2 separate regions of the Homo sapiens genome follow, and region 2 is linked to region 1. Evidence: promoter capture Hi-C in 16 types of primary human blood cells and fetal thymus (Javierre and others, 2016). All regions are on one chromosome and are shown on one strand. The core of a region is centred on a gene start or on the middle of the fragment in contact, and the rest is flanking DNA. Distances in the headings are between cores, read along the strand shown.

Region 1 (5,878 bases), core at 870-3,369:
AGACTGAGCACCCACAGGCTGCAGCAGTGCATGGACCCATCTTTGCTAAATTTTCTCTCCCACAGCCAAGACTGCAAGCTGAGCAGGCCATGGAGCCCATGAGCCGAGGACCAGGGCTTGGGGTTTTCCCAGGGGACTGAGGCAGCCCTTTGCTGCTTGGTCTCACCGGAGAAAATGGAGGGAGGGAGGAAGTGAAGAAGGGAGGGAGAAAGCTGGCCCCATCCTATAATGCATCTGGGGGAGCAAGAATGTGGCTGATTTAGCTGGAAGAAGGAAAAATGTACCAAGACCCGAAAGACAGGGAATGTCCTCACTGGAGGAAAGTGAAGGAAGAAGGCTCTACAGTTCTTCTCCTGGGTTACAAGAGAAGTTAGCTAGCAGGCAGAGAGGAGCTTTGCCCCCAGAGAAGCCTGCAGTGTAGACTCAGCTCTGCCACTTACTGGTAGTGTGACCTTGGGCAAGTCACTCACCTCCCTGAGCCTCCCTTTAGAGTCTTCATCTCTAAAATGGGGATAATAAACTTACCTTGCGCAACTGTTGTAAAAAAAAATTAGGAGATAATGGATGCAGAGCACTCAACACAGGTCTCACAGAGCAGGAAGGGAATGAAAGGCACCCGTGAGTAATTCCCCAGGCGCCCCTGCCTGCAGGAGACTCAGGCCTGACCTCCAGGGCACCACCCATCTAAGGGCATCTTATGCCAAGGCCTCCAATGCCCCAGATGCCAGTCACCTCTAGGATGCCTCCCCGGATGGGAAAGGAAACCCAAGGACGGTTGTGGTCGCTGGGATCCTGGATCTGAAGCCCGCGGTCGGGGCTGGCATCTGCTGAGTCAGGCCTGGGAGAGCTGGCAGGAGGGCCATTTCTCTCTCCAGCATGATGCCCGCTGAGGGGAGGTTGGGAGGGGAGCCAGAGGTCATTTCCTCTGAGTCAGAGGCCATTCTCCTCCCAGAGGAGCTCCCCTGGCGGACCAGGCACCTCCATGTGGCGCGTGCCTCCCTGCCGGCCAACCTGCATGCTACTCAGTACAGTTGGGGCATTGTGCTCAGACAAGAAAGGGGCACTTGTGATCCAGACAATGGGCTGGGTCGCTCCCATTTGGCCTGGGCTTCAGCTTCCCTGGGTCAGCAATATCCTTTCCTCTGCTCCTGCCCACTCTGCTTCCACCCCTCCCTGGAGAATGGTGGCTAGGAACACGGAGCAGAGACTCACCGCGGGCCCATGCCCGGTTTGGCACGTGCCTCGGCCGTGAGGAGGAGGAGGGATGCAAGCTTCGCTCCTCTACCCTGGTAAGAAACGTCGCCCCTGGGGAACCCAGCTCGGCTCAGGCCATGTCCAGGGCCGGCGCGATTAGGTGGTGGCGGCGGTGGGTGGGTGGGTGGGGGGTCTATGGGCAAAGACCCCAGCGCCAGCCTCCATGCCTCCTCCTCCCGTGACAAGCCCAGGGGCTGGGCCGCCCCCACGTTTGCAGCCACCCCAGGAGCCCTGCTGCGACGACTGCAGCCACGTGGGAGCCAGCTCGTGCCCACGGCCGTTCGCCCCCACCCCCACCCTCGACGGGCTGTGGAGGCAGGCACACCCAGCCGGGCCAGAGGGGCGACATGCCCCCGCCGCGCACCCCTCTCCCCCTGCACCCCCGGGCTGTGGGCCCGCGTCGGGGGAGGGGGGAGGGAGGGGGAGGGGGCGTCGCCGCCCCGCAGTCGTGTTGCCGGGGAGCGCAACCCCGTTGCTGTGGCAACCGTTTCCAAGCGAACTGGTGGCGGCTCGCGCCCCGTTCCGGCTCCCTCGCTCACTGGCGCTCTCCCTCCCTCCGGTGTGGACTGGGGGAGGGGCTGCTCGCGGCCCGGGCGGGGGACCGGGGCGGCGACCCGGGGCCAGGGCGCTGAGCCGCCCGCGGGGAAGGGCTCAGTCCTGGGACCATCTTCCGCCCGCGCTCCGTGCCCGCCCGGCCCGCAGCCGCCGCGGTACTCACGGGCCCAGGCATCCTCCTCGAGCTCGTTCTCCTGGCTCGGGGCGAGCAGCGCGGGCCCAGCGGACAGAGCCCCGGGCCTGCGGGGGGAGGCGGCGGCGGCCCGGGGGAGCAGACAGTGGCAGCGAAAGCGGCTCCGAGCGCTGGGCTGGAGGCGCGGGGCGCGCGCACGGGCGCGTACACGGCGGGTGCTGAGCCCGGCGTGCGCGCGCGCGGCAGCCGGCAGAGGGCCCCGCACCCCCAGCCACACGCCGCGAGGAGGCTGCCCCCGGAGGGAAGGAGGGGGAGGACGGTCACCCACCTGCGGCGCCGAGACCCGGTTCTCCAGCCCGCCGGGCTCACACCCGCCAGGGCACCCTCACAGGGGAGGCACACGCCGGCCGACCCGGTCCACACTCCAGGCTGGAGCCCAGGCCACACCGGTCGTGCACGCTGGATGCACAGCCAGGCAGCTGAGGTCGAGAACCCGGACGCGCACACAGCTCAGCTCGGAGAGCACACACATGTCCAGGTCCCCGTCACATCCTGACAGGCGCTGCGCACACGCAGTGGGCAGGGGCCCCCGAGCAGGCAGGCACCCCAACGTGGCTCCCTCCCAACTCACGACCCCTCTCGCTAGGTGCCCAGCAGGCGTACACCACCACATGCCTACTAGGAAGCCACGGGGAGGAGGACCTAGTGCCGAACCCACAGCCCTGGCCTCCGTGGACATGCCTCCCCCCTACCCCAGCAGGGAACAGATGACCCCTAGAGAGCGCCCCACTGTCTACCCCGAGGTCCAAGCTTGCAGAGGCCACTCTGAAGTTGGCTGTCCATCGGCCTCTTAACTGGGCTGTTTTTCGTCCAACTTCTCTACTGCACTTAAGATGATTTGCCAAAAACCCCTCCACCACCATATTAGCTGGAACATTTGGGGTTGAAGTGACAGAACTCCCAAACAAATAGGTTTGAGCTGTACCCCGTCTCTACCAAAAAAAAAAAAAAATCTGCACGCCTGTGGAGAATCGCTTGAATCCGGGAGGCAGAGGTTGCAGTGAGCCGAGATCACGCCACCGCACTCCAGCCTAAGGGAGGGGGTGAGACCCTGTCTCAAAAAAAAAAAGAGAAAGAAGAAAGAGAAAGGACAGAAAGAAAGAAAAATAAAAGAGAAAGAAAGAAGAAAGGAAAGAAAGAAAAGAAAGAAAAAGAGAAAGAAAAGAAAAAGCTTTGAGCTCAAAGGGGACTGGTTCATGCAACTGGCAAGTCCCAGGGTAGATTCTAGCTTTGGTCACAGTTGCTTCCAGGTGTTCCCGCAATGGTGTCAGGCACGTATCTGCTTCTGTTTGCATCACTCTCAGGCAAGCTCACCCCAAGAAGTAGCGAGGACAACCCCAACAGCCCTAGGCTCATATCCTGCCATCTATCCCTGGAGGAAAACGGAACCCCAATTCCTTCCCCATCATTTGAGCAAAATACAAGCAAACAACTCCATGAATGATTCTTTTTGGACTCATTTGGGCTGAGTCTCTATCAGTGAACCAATCTAAGTGCCTGTGTGTTAAGGGAGAGGATATGTGCTCCTTATGCAAAGGGAATGGCCTCCCAGTACCCGCTCCCTTTTCTTTGTATACAGGCACCCTGATTTCAATGGGGGAATCACTGCCCCACGGGTGCCATCCTGGTGAAACTGTGAACCCAAGTGCCCTGCTCCCTGACAGTGCACAGCAGGCAGGTATCCAGCCTGGCCACTCAGACTCCTTGAGTTTGCAACTGGGCTCAAAGAGGCAAAACCAAATGGCTCTATCATCTTGGTTCTGGTGGGTGTCTCCTGATGAGAATGGAGCCCACAACTAAGACCCCGAAGCTCCTCCATATCCTTGGAACACCTTCTAAGTTAGCGGGAGGACAGTTCTGTCACTTGCAACATTCCCACCTGGCTCTCTCACTCTAGGTATGTGTGTGGAGTATGCGTGTGCAGGGGGTGCAAGCCCAGCCCCGTCTAAACCACATGGACAGAGACTGGGGGTGCTTTTGTACATGCTGGAGCAAACACCCCAACACAACCAGTAAAAACCCTTCAGGGAATCCCCTACCTTCCAGATGAGGCCCCATCTGGGCCTTAACCCTGTGATCCTTAATCTAGCTTTCAAAGCTGGCTGTGTCTCACTGACTTCAGCTCCAGCCATTCCTTGCTTCCACCCCTGGCCTCCCATGCTCAGCCATCCTAAACCACTAAAGCCCTAGACCATCCATCTGGCTCCTCTACTTGGGTACATCTGACCCTGTGTCCTGGAGGGCACCAATTCTGACACCTTCAGGGTCAAGGGGCCTCCCTGTTTGGTGCTGCCCCACCCCCAACCCTGTCAGCTCTAGAATCCTCTCTTCCACAGTGCTGATCACACTGGGTCCCGCTGTTCCCACGTCTGCCTCCCTACCAGACTGAGCTCCAAGCTGCCAGGGGCCTCGTCTCCATCTGGGTCCCAGTTCCCACCATAGAGCTGGGCATGGAGGACAGCTCAGGGAAGCTTCTTGGGAAATGAATTCTGGGAGTTCCCTCTGCCAAGGACCCACTGTGTTAAGAGCTTTAAGGTGAGTTTAACCCTAGCCAAGAAGTTCCCTGGATGCCTCCCTAGCCCAAGGGGGAGCTGGCCAGGGTGTCCTGATCCAGGTGCAGGCAGAGTGCCTCAGGGTCCTGCACATCCACCTGGCACGCGCTCTCTTGCATACCTGCCCAGGGCTGGGCTTTGGTATGACATGCTAACACCTACCTAAAAATCCCCCACTCCCACCTCATAACAGCCTGGGGCAGAGGGGCAAACCCACCCCAGGCTCCTTTCTCATGATACATGGGTAGGATCCAGCTTTCCCATCATTACCTGGTTTCCTCCCCACCCTGCAATGGCCACTTAACCAGTTGGAAGACCTTGAGCAGGTCCCCACTCCCCTTACTTCCCTTAGGTTGGTGGGAAGCAGCAGGCACTCCACATGTCATGAGTGGGGCCACAAAAGGCCCCTTCTGCCAGGCTGCTGGCTTGGCACCTTCTGGCTGTGCTTAAGCCAGGTGGTTAGTTTGGTACTCAGCACCACTCCCCAGCAGGTGGGAGTCCTGCGGTGGCTTGGGAACTCAAGGGGCTGGCTGGCTGCTTTGGTGGATTCTCACAGCTGCCCAGAAAGGTGATGGGTCTTACACCTACCTTTCCATATCAGGGAAGCGCCTGTGCAGGGCCAACTTGAAAAGTGGCCAGGCTGGGGCTTGAACCTGGAACTGTCAGCTACAAAGCTCACATGGCTCCTGCAGCACTGGGTGCCCAGTCCAGAGGCCAGGAACAAGCTTGATGGGGCTTACGGGGCATTCTCAGGGAGCTGGGGACACTGGGAGTCTATAGAGCAGTGATGGGGTTGCCAGATCTGGGACAGACTGGTAGGCAACAAGCTCTCAGCCCCAGAGCCCAGGCAGGAAGCTCCCCTTGAGTGCCTCCCAGTCCCCCTTCCTCCCAGGTGAATGTCCACTTCGAGGCCGGCTCAACCACCGTCTTCAGAGAACTCTCCCACACTGGCCACAGCCTATCTGCCAGCGTCACCCACTGTCTAGGTCTTTGCCCATAATGTGTCAAGGGCAAAACAGAGGGGTGGATATGATGCACGTGCCTCAGCCCGGGGCCCGTACATGGCTGGCGTCCAGGTAACGCAGGCCTGGGGCAGACATTCCTTACACAGCTCCCACCCTACTCTTACGTCCACATTTAGGCAGCCAGGCCACCTTAGCCTTGGAGGGGAGGACACCAACGGGGCCCGCCTTACCAGCAGTCAGAAACAGACCCACATCCCAGTGGGTACCCAAGGCTTCTTTCCTTAGGCCCCATCCCATTTAGGAAGTTGGGAAACCCACTGGGTGAGCCCAAAGGCTACCAAAGCCTGGCTGTCTGGAGA
Region 2 (5,878 bases), core at 2,268-4,767, 95 kb after region 1:
TGCTTGGGGTGCCTGGAACTGGGCTTTGGCCACCACAGATGCCCACAGCTCATCTTCTTCCTGCCAAAGGACAGTCACAGTCTCTGCCTGGGACTCCCTTTGAAGTTCATACTCTCCTGCAGAGACACCTCTTCCCTTCTCTCCACCATGGATGCCAGTTCTAGCTCTGACCACATCTTCACCACAGCTAGCCCTGGCTGTTCCCATCTCTTAGCCCTTATCTAGTCTTCTCCATGCCATGAGAGTGGTGGAGTACCTCCACCCACAAAGCACCATCCTCGACTTCTCCCTTCCTGGCTGCCCACAGGGCATCAGTTCCTGATTTAGTCTCTGGCTGGGACTTCAGATCCTTCTTCTCTGTGAAGACCTCCTTGGCTTAGGCCTCACCCTCTCTCCCCCGATCATGATGAATCCAGTCTCCCTATTATCCCCGCTCCAATCTCTTCTCCTCACCATAGCTAGAGGAATCCACATTGGTCACTCCCATGCTTAGAAATATCCCATTGAGTTCTGGGAAAAGGCCATGTTCCTTACTTGGGAATTGAAGGCCCTTTGAGTTTTGGCTTCAGCTCCCCCGCAGCCCCCAACTCCAACTTCTCAGCCATTCCAAACTACTTGTATTTCATCTGCTCTCACACATCCCTCCCTAGATTGCAGCTCCTCTTCTCTCTGCTGAGAATGCCTTTACCTTTCCCGGAAAACTCCTACTCATTCTTCATGACCCAATTCCAGGTTCTAGAACAAATATTCATTCTTTCACCAGTTACTTATTAATCACCTCCTATGTGACAAGCACTATTCTAGATGCCAGGGATTCAGTAGTGACCATAGCTGACAAAAATCCCAGCCCCATGAAGGTCCCATGGAATGTGCATGTTTTTGTTTGTATGGGTGCAGATAAATCTCTGGAAGGGGACACTCCTTGCGAGGGGAGTGGCAGAAGACTTTTGTTGTGTCTTTTCTTTTCTTTTCTTTTCTTTTTTTGAGATGGAGTTTCACTCTTGTTGCCCAGGCTGGAGTGCAATGGCACAATTTTGGCTCACTGCAACCTCCGCTTCCTGGGTTCGAGTGATTCTCCTGCCTCAGCCTCCTGAGTAGCTGGGATTATAGGTACCCGCCACCATGGCCGGCTAATTTTTTGTATTTTTAGTAGAAACAGGGTTTCACAATGTTGGCCAGGGTAGTCTCGAACTCCTGACCTCAAGTGATCCACCTGCCTTGGCCTCCCAAAGTGCTGGGATTACAGGTGTGAGCCACCATGCCTGGCTTGTTGTGTCTTGTATGTCTGTTCTCTCTCTGTTTCCATACACACCACAAGAATGTGTGACTTTTTTGAGACAGAGTCTCACTCTGTCACTCAGGCTGGAGTGCAGTGGCAAGATCTTGGCTCACTGCAACCTCCACCTCCCAGGTGCAAGTGATGCTCGTGCCTCAGCCTCCTGAGTAGCTGGGATTACAAGTGTGCACCACCACACCCAGCTAATTTTTTGTAGAGACAGGGTTTCGCTATGTTGGCCAGGCTGGTCTCGAACTCCTAGCCTCAAGTGATCCACCCACCTCGGCCTCCCAAACTACTGGGATTACAGGTGTGAGCCACCGTGCCTGACCAGAATGTGTGACTTTAATAATAAAAAAGCGAACGAAAAATATATGACCAAGAAAAGATTCAGCACTCAATCCTGAATAAGTCCATTCATTCAAGAGGGCAGTTTCTAAAAGGAGCAAGCAACCAACATCCCTCCCTGTGATCTACAACAGGAGTCATTGATTCAAATGTCTGGAGGAGCCAGGCAAGTGCTGTAAACGAGTGACCAGGTGGGGACCAGCTTAGAAGAGGAAGGCATTGGTGGAGGGGCAGTCCCATTCAGCTCCAGCCTATTGTTCTGTTGTGGGAATGTGTGCCTAGATCTTTTGCTGCTGCTTCTTTTTTTTTTTTTTTGGGTAAAAAAACGGAAGTCTGGATTTCTTTTCTTCTTCTTCTTCTTCTTTTTTTTTTTTTTTGTAGAGACAGAGTCTTGCTCTGTCGCCCCGGCTGGAATGCAATGGCGTGATCTCTGCTCACTGCAACCTCTGCCTCCTGGGTTCAAGCAATTCTCCTGCCTCAGCCTCCCGAGTAGCTGGGACTACAGGTGTCCGCCACCACGCCGTTAATTTCTTTTGTATTTTAGTAGAGACGGGGTTTCACCGTGTTGCCCAGGCTGGTCTGAAACTCCTGAGCTCAGGTAATCTGCTCGCCTCTGCCTCCCAAAGTGCTAGGATTACAGGCCTCAGCCACTGAGCTCAGCCGGAAGTCTGGATTTCTGATGTGAATGTACATATTCCGACTTTGTGTGTGTGTGTGTGTGTGTGTGTGTGTGTGTGTGTGTGTGTGACAGAGTCTCGCTCTGTCGCCCAGGCTGGAGTGCAGTGACGCGATTTCGGCTCACTGCAAGCTCTGCCTCCTGGGTTCAAGCCATTCTCCTGGCTCAGCCTCCCGAGTAGCTGGGACTACAGACACCTGCCACCACGCCCGGCTAATTTTTTGTATTTTTTAGTAGAGACGGGGTTTCACCGTGCTAGCCAGGATGGTCTCGATCTCCCGATCTCGTGATCCGCCGGCCTCAGCCTCCCAAAGTGCTGGGATTACAGGCGTGAGCCACCACGCCCAGCCTCTATATTCTGACTTTAAAATACTGGTAGTTAAGCCATTTATTAGAATATTGGCAGGTAAAACAGAGCTCTATTCAGCTGCAGGCCACCAGTTTTCGACCTCTGATTCACAGCTTTCCTGGGCCTTCCATGGACGTTACTTGCTGTACCAGGCACTGCGCTCTTTTGCATAGGGATGAGTTCCAGTCATCACTGGGGTCCCAGGCCAGGATCTGTGTCTGTTCCTCTTGCTTCAACCCGACTAGGCCTGAGGAGTTGAGGGTAGTGGAGGCCCTCAAATAATTGGGAATTCTGAGTCTCCAAAGGCGCGAAGCTGGGGCGCCTGACGGCAGGCACGGCTTAAAGGCTTGCCCAGGGCCACCCGGGGAGGACAAGGGTTGGAATGCAGGACTCCGCCTTCAATTCAGAGCTCCTTTCTCCAGGACTAGAAAAGGTTATTCCAGAGACGGGACTTGCGGCCAGAAGCCCAAGACGTCCTAGTCTTCGCGAATCCGCCCCATTAGAGCGACCGACAAAAACTACAAATTCCAGCATGCCCCGAGTCGCGGACGGCCCTCGCGCTCCCGCCGGCTCCAACCATCCCTCTGCTCCTCATTGGCTCGCAAGCCTAACGTGCTGTTCCGTGACTGGTTACAGCTCTTGTCGCTCGAAAGAACCCATTGCTGGGGCTGGCCGGCGTGTGCCTTGGAGCCTCTAAGGAGATGAAACTGCACTCAACCAGGATGAGAGGCTGCCCGGCCAATGCAGCTGCCGCCCCGTCTGCTGCGGAGGCTTTGCTTTTTGACTCCCTGGCGACAGTAAAGTTGAAGAGCTTCCGGCCGGAGGCCAATAGATGGGACCCCCGGAAGGCGGAAGTTCTAGGGCGGAAGTGGCCGAGAGGAGAGGAGAATGGCGGCGGAAGGCTGGATTTGGCGTTGGGGCTGGGGCCGGCGGTGCCTGGGAAGGCCTGGGCTTCTCGGCCCCGGCCCTGGCCCCACTACACCTCTCTTTCTTCTTTTGTTGTTGGGGTCTGTGACTGCGGATATAACTGACGGCAACAGTGAACATCTCAAGCGGGAGCATTCGCTCATTAAGCCCTACCAAGGTGAAGCCCTTGGGGCGGGAATGAGTGAAGAGTGAGGGCGAGGCTGAACAGGGCTAGGGGAAGGCGTGCCCTTTCTCCTGAGCAGAGCATCTCTGTGGGTTTCCTGCCTCTGGTGAGGCCAGTCCTGGCGTGGCCTCTTAGCACCTGTCTCTTCCCACAGGGGTCGGTTCCAGCTCTATGCCCCTCTGGGACTTCCAGGGCAGCACTATGCTCACGAGCCAGTACGTACGTCTGACCCCTGACGAGCGCAGCAAAGAGGGCTCTATCTGGAACCACCAGGTGAGTGGTTCTCAAGAGGATAGGCGTACTGTGCGGTTGGCTGCTAGTCCCTGCCTCCCGAGCAGCTGAGACCCCAGCTTCGTTTATAGGTTTGCACCTCCGTCCCTGGCCTTTTCCTCATCTCGGTCACACCCACCAATAATAAGAGGCGATGGGTATTGGGTACTTACTATGTGTCAGGAGCTGCGCTTGACACTTTACATCCTCCTCACTTTAAAAGCCATGCGAGATGAGTAATGTTATCTCCATTTTACCCACTGAGAAGCTAAGACTCAGGTTTGAAAGGGCCTTACCCAAAGTTACATAGCCAGAAAGTAGTGGAACTGTCAGGCTGTCTGCCTTGAACCCCCTCAGTAATGGGAAGAACCGAGCGAACTGGATCTTTATTGGGTGTTTTGCTGTGTATTAGGCACTGACCTTGCCATGCCTTATTGCATTTAATTTTCAAACAAGCTGTTTGAAATAGATGGCTTTCATGACTATACAAAGATAACCCAGCTAGCAAATGTCATAAACAGTATTTAAACTCTGATTTGTCTGATCTCTAAGCCCAGCAGTTCACTCGATGTACTTGACTCTTTTCACCTGGACAGTGGAGGAACCCCTTAGAACCCTTTTTGCAATGCTTGGTTGAGGGTCTTGTCATCAGTAGTGTGGAGGGACTGGACCTGTGGGCAGTTCTAGTGTCTGTGACCTTTGCCTCAGAGTATGTAGTATGTAGTATGTGAGCAGTGGCCAATGACAGCTGCTACACAGAATCCACACTGAGGCAGTCAAGGTGAGGAAAAAGGGGAAAGAAGAATAATTTGGGGCTGGGTTACAGCTTGGAGCGGGACCTGCTCCTGCCCCAGCTTGCCTAATCTCAGCCCTTCCCATGGCTTAAGCTGTTGGCCAGTGTTCTAGTTTTCTCCATCACCCTGCTCTCTGATCCCTGCTGGTTGACTTTCTTGTTTAGTTCTGGGAACCCACACTGTCCTTGTGTTGCCTGGTCTGCCCGTCCCCTCTGCTCCTCCTCTCCTTCCTGCCCCGAGCCTCCACACTGCTGTTAGTGGCATCTGCGGATACTTTCTTCAGCTTTCAGTCTGATCCTCAGAGCGTGGAGTCCCCTGTGAAGGGGTAAGCATGCATTATGTCTGCACAATCTGGCCCCTTGTGCATCTCCAGTCATTCTCTGTGTTAATTTTGTTCCAGCCCCCCCTGGCTGCCTTCTTGCCTCAGGACCTTTGCACCTGTTGTTCCCTCTGTCTGGGACACTGCCTCCTGGCTCCTCATGCCTGCTTGGTTCCTTCTCATCTGTTAAGTCTCAATTCAAGTGCCACCCACGCAGACATTTCTTCATTAACCACCCTATCTCCCCCGAGTCACATTCTGTCACATTCTGTCTTAGGGCTTTCAGATATTTTAAAGAAATGATAATTCAGCCTTATATTTTTCATGGAAATGAGTTCAGTATAGCATTATTATTATTTTTTGAAAGCAAGGTGCAAACAGTGCTGGAACTGTAGAAATCAGGAGTAGCCACAAGTAATAGACGCATCTAAGACAGTGGCTTACATTTTGGTTGTAGATAGCTGATGGTTGGCATCATCAGTGGCTCGAGGATGTCACAGGACTGAGAGGCTTCTGCACTTGCCTTCATCGAATTTTCAGTCTGGAGTACAATTGTTTTGCCTTCCTTCCTCCACCTTTCTATTTGGCTCTGCTGATATTCCTGAAACATTTGGAGTGCTTCCTGTAAACTCTGGAAAGAAATGGCTTGGAAATCAGAATTTTCTGTTCAGTGTTTCCCAAGAACTGCCTCTTCCTTTAATGAGCTGGAGAGATGCTTCCTAAACTTTTCCCTTTTTTATCTCCTTCATTCACTCC

What was found. The method cuts DNA at HindIII sites, captures the fragments that hold promoters and counts their contacts. A CHiCAGO score of 5 or more calls a contact.
Region 2: a contact is called between the fragment with the promoter of LMAN2 here and the fragment with the promoter of PRR7 in region 1, in 1 of 17 cell types (non-activated CD4 T cells). The highest score is 7.7, in non-activated CD4 T cells.

Annotation. Positions count from the first base shown.
Region 1 is chr5:177,443,055-177,448,932 of GRCh38, reverse strand. PRR7 (proline rich 7, synaptic) reads right to left here and starts at 2,119. Exons shown (of 4, transcript NM_030567.5): 1 at 1,973-2,119. It overlaps PRR7-AS1 (PRR7 antisense RNA 1), which reads left to right and starts at 989. Exons shown (of 3, transcript NR_038916.1): 1 at 989-1,289. RefSeq lists an enhancer at 834-1,462 and a silencer at 1,405-2,494. The HindIII fragment of the contact is 1,481 bases long and covers 1,274-2,754 here.
Region 2 is chr5:177,349,307-177,355,184 of GRCh38, reverse strand. It overlaps LMAN2 (lectin, mannose binding 2), which reads left to right and starts at 3,517. Exons shown (of 8, transcript NM_006816.3): 1 at 3,517-3,733; 2 at 3,894-4,012. The coding sequence starts at 3,538. RefSeq lists enhancers at 3,327-3,376, 3,387-3,576 and a silencer at 3,218-3,432. The HindIII fragment of the contact is 10,936 bases long and covers 1-5,878 here.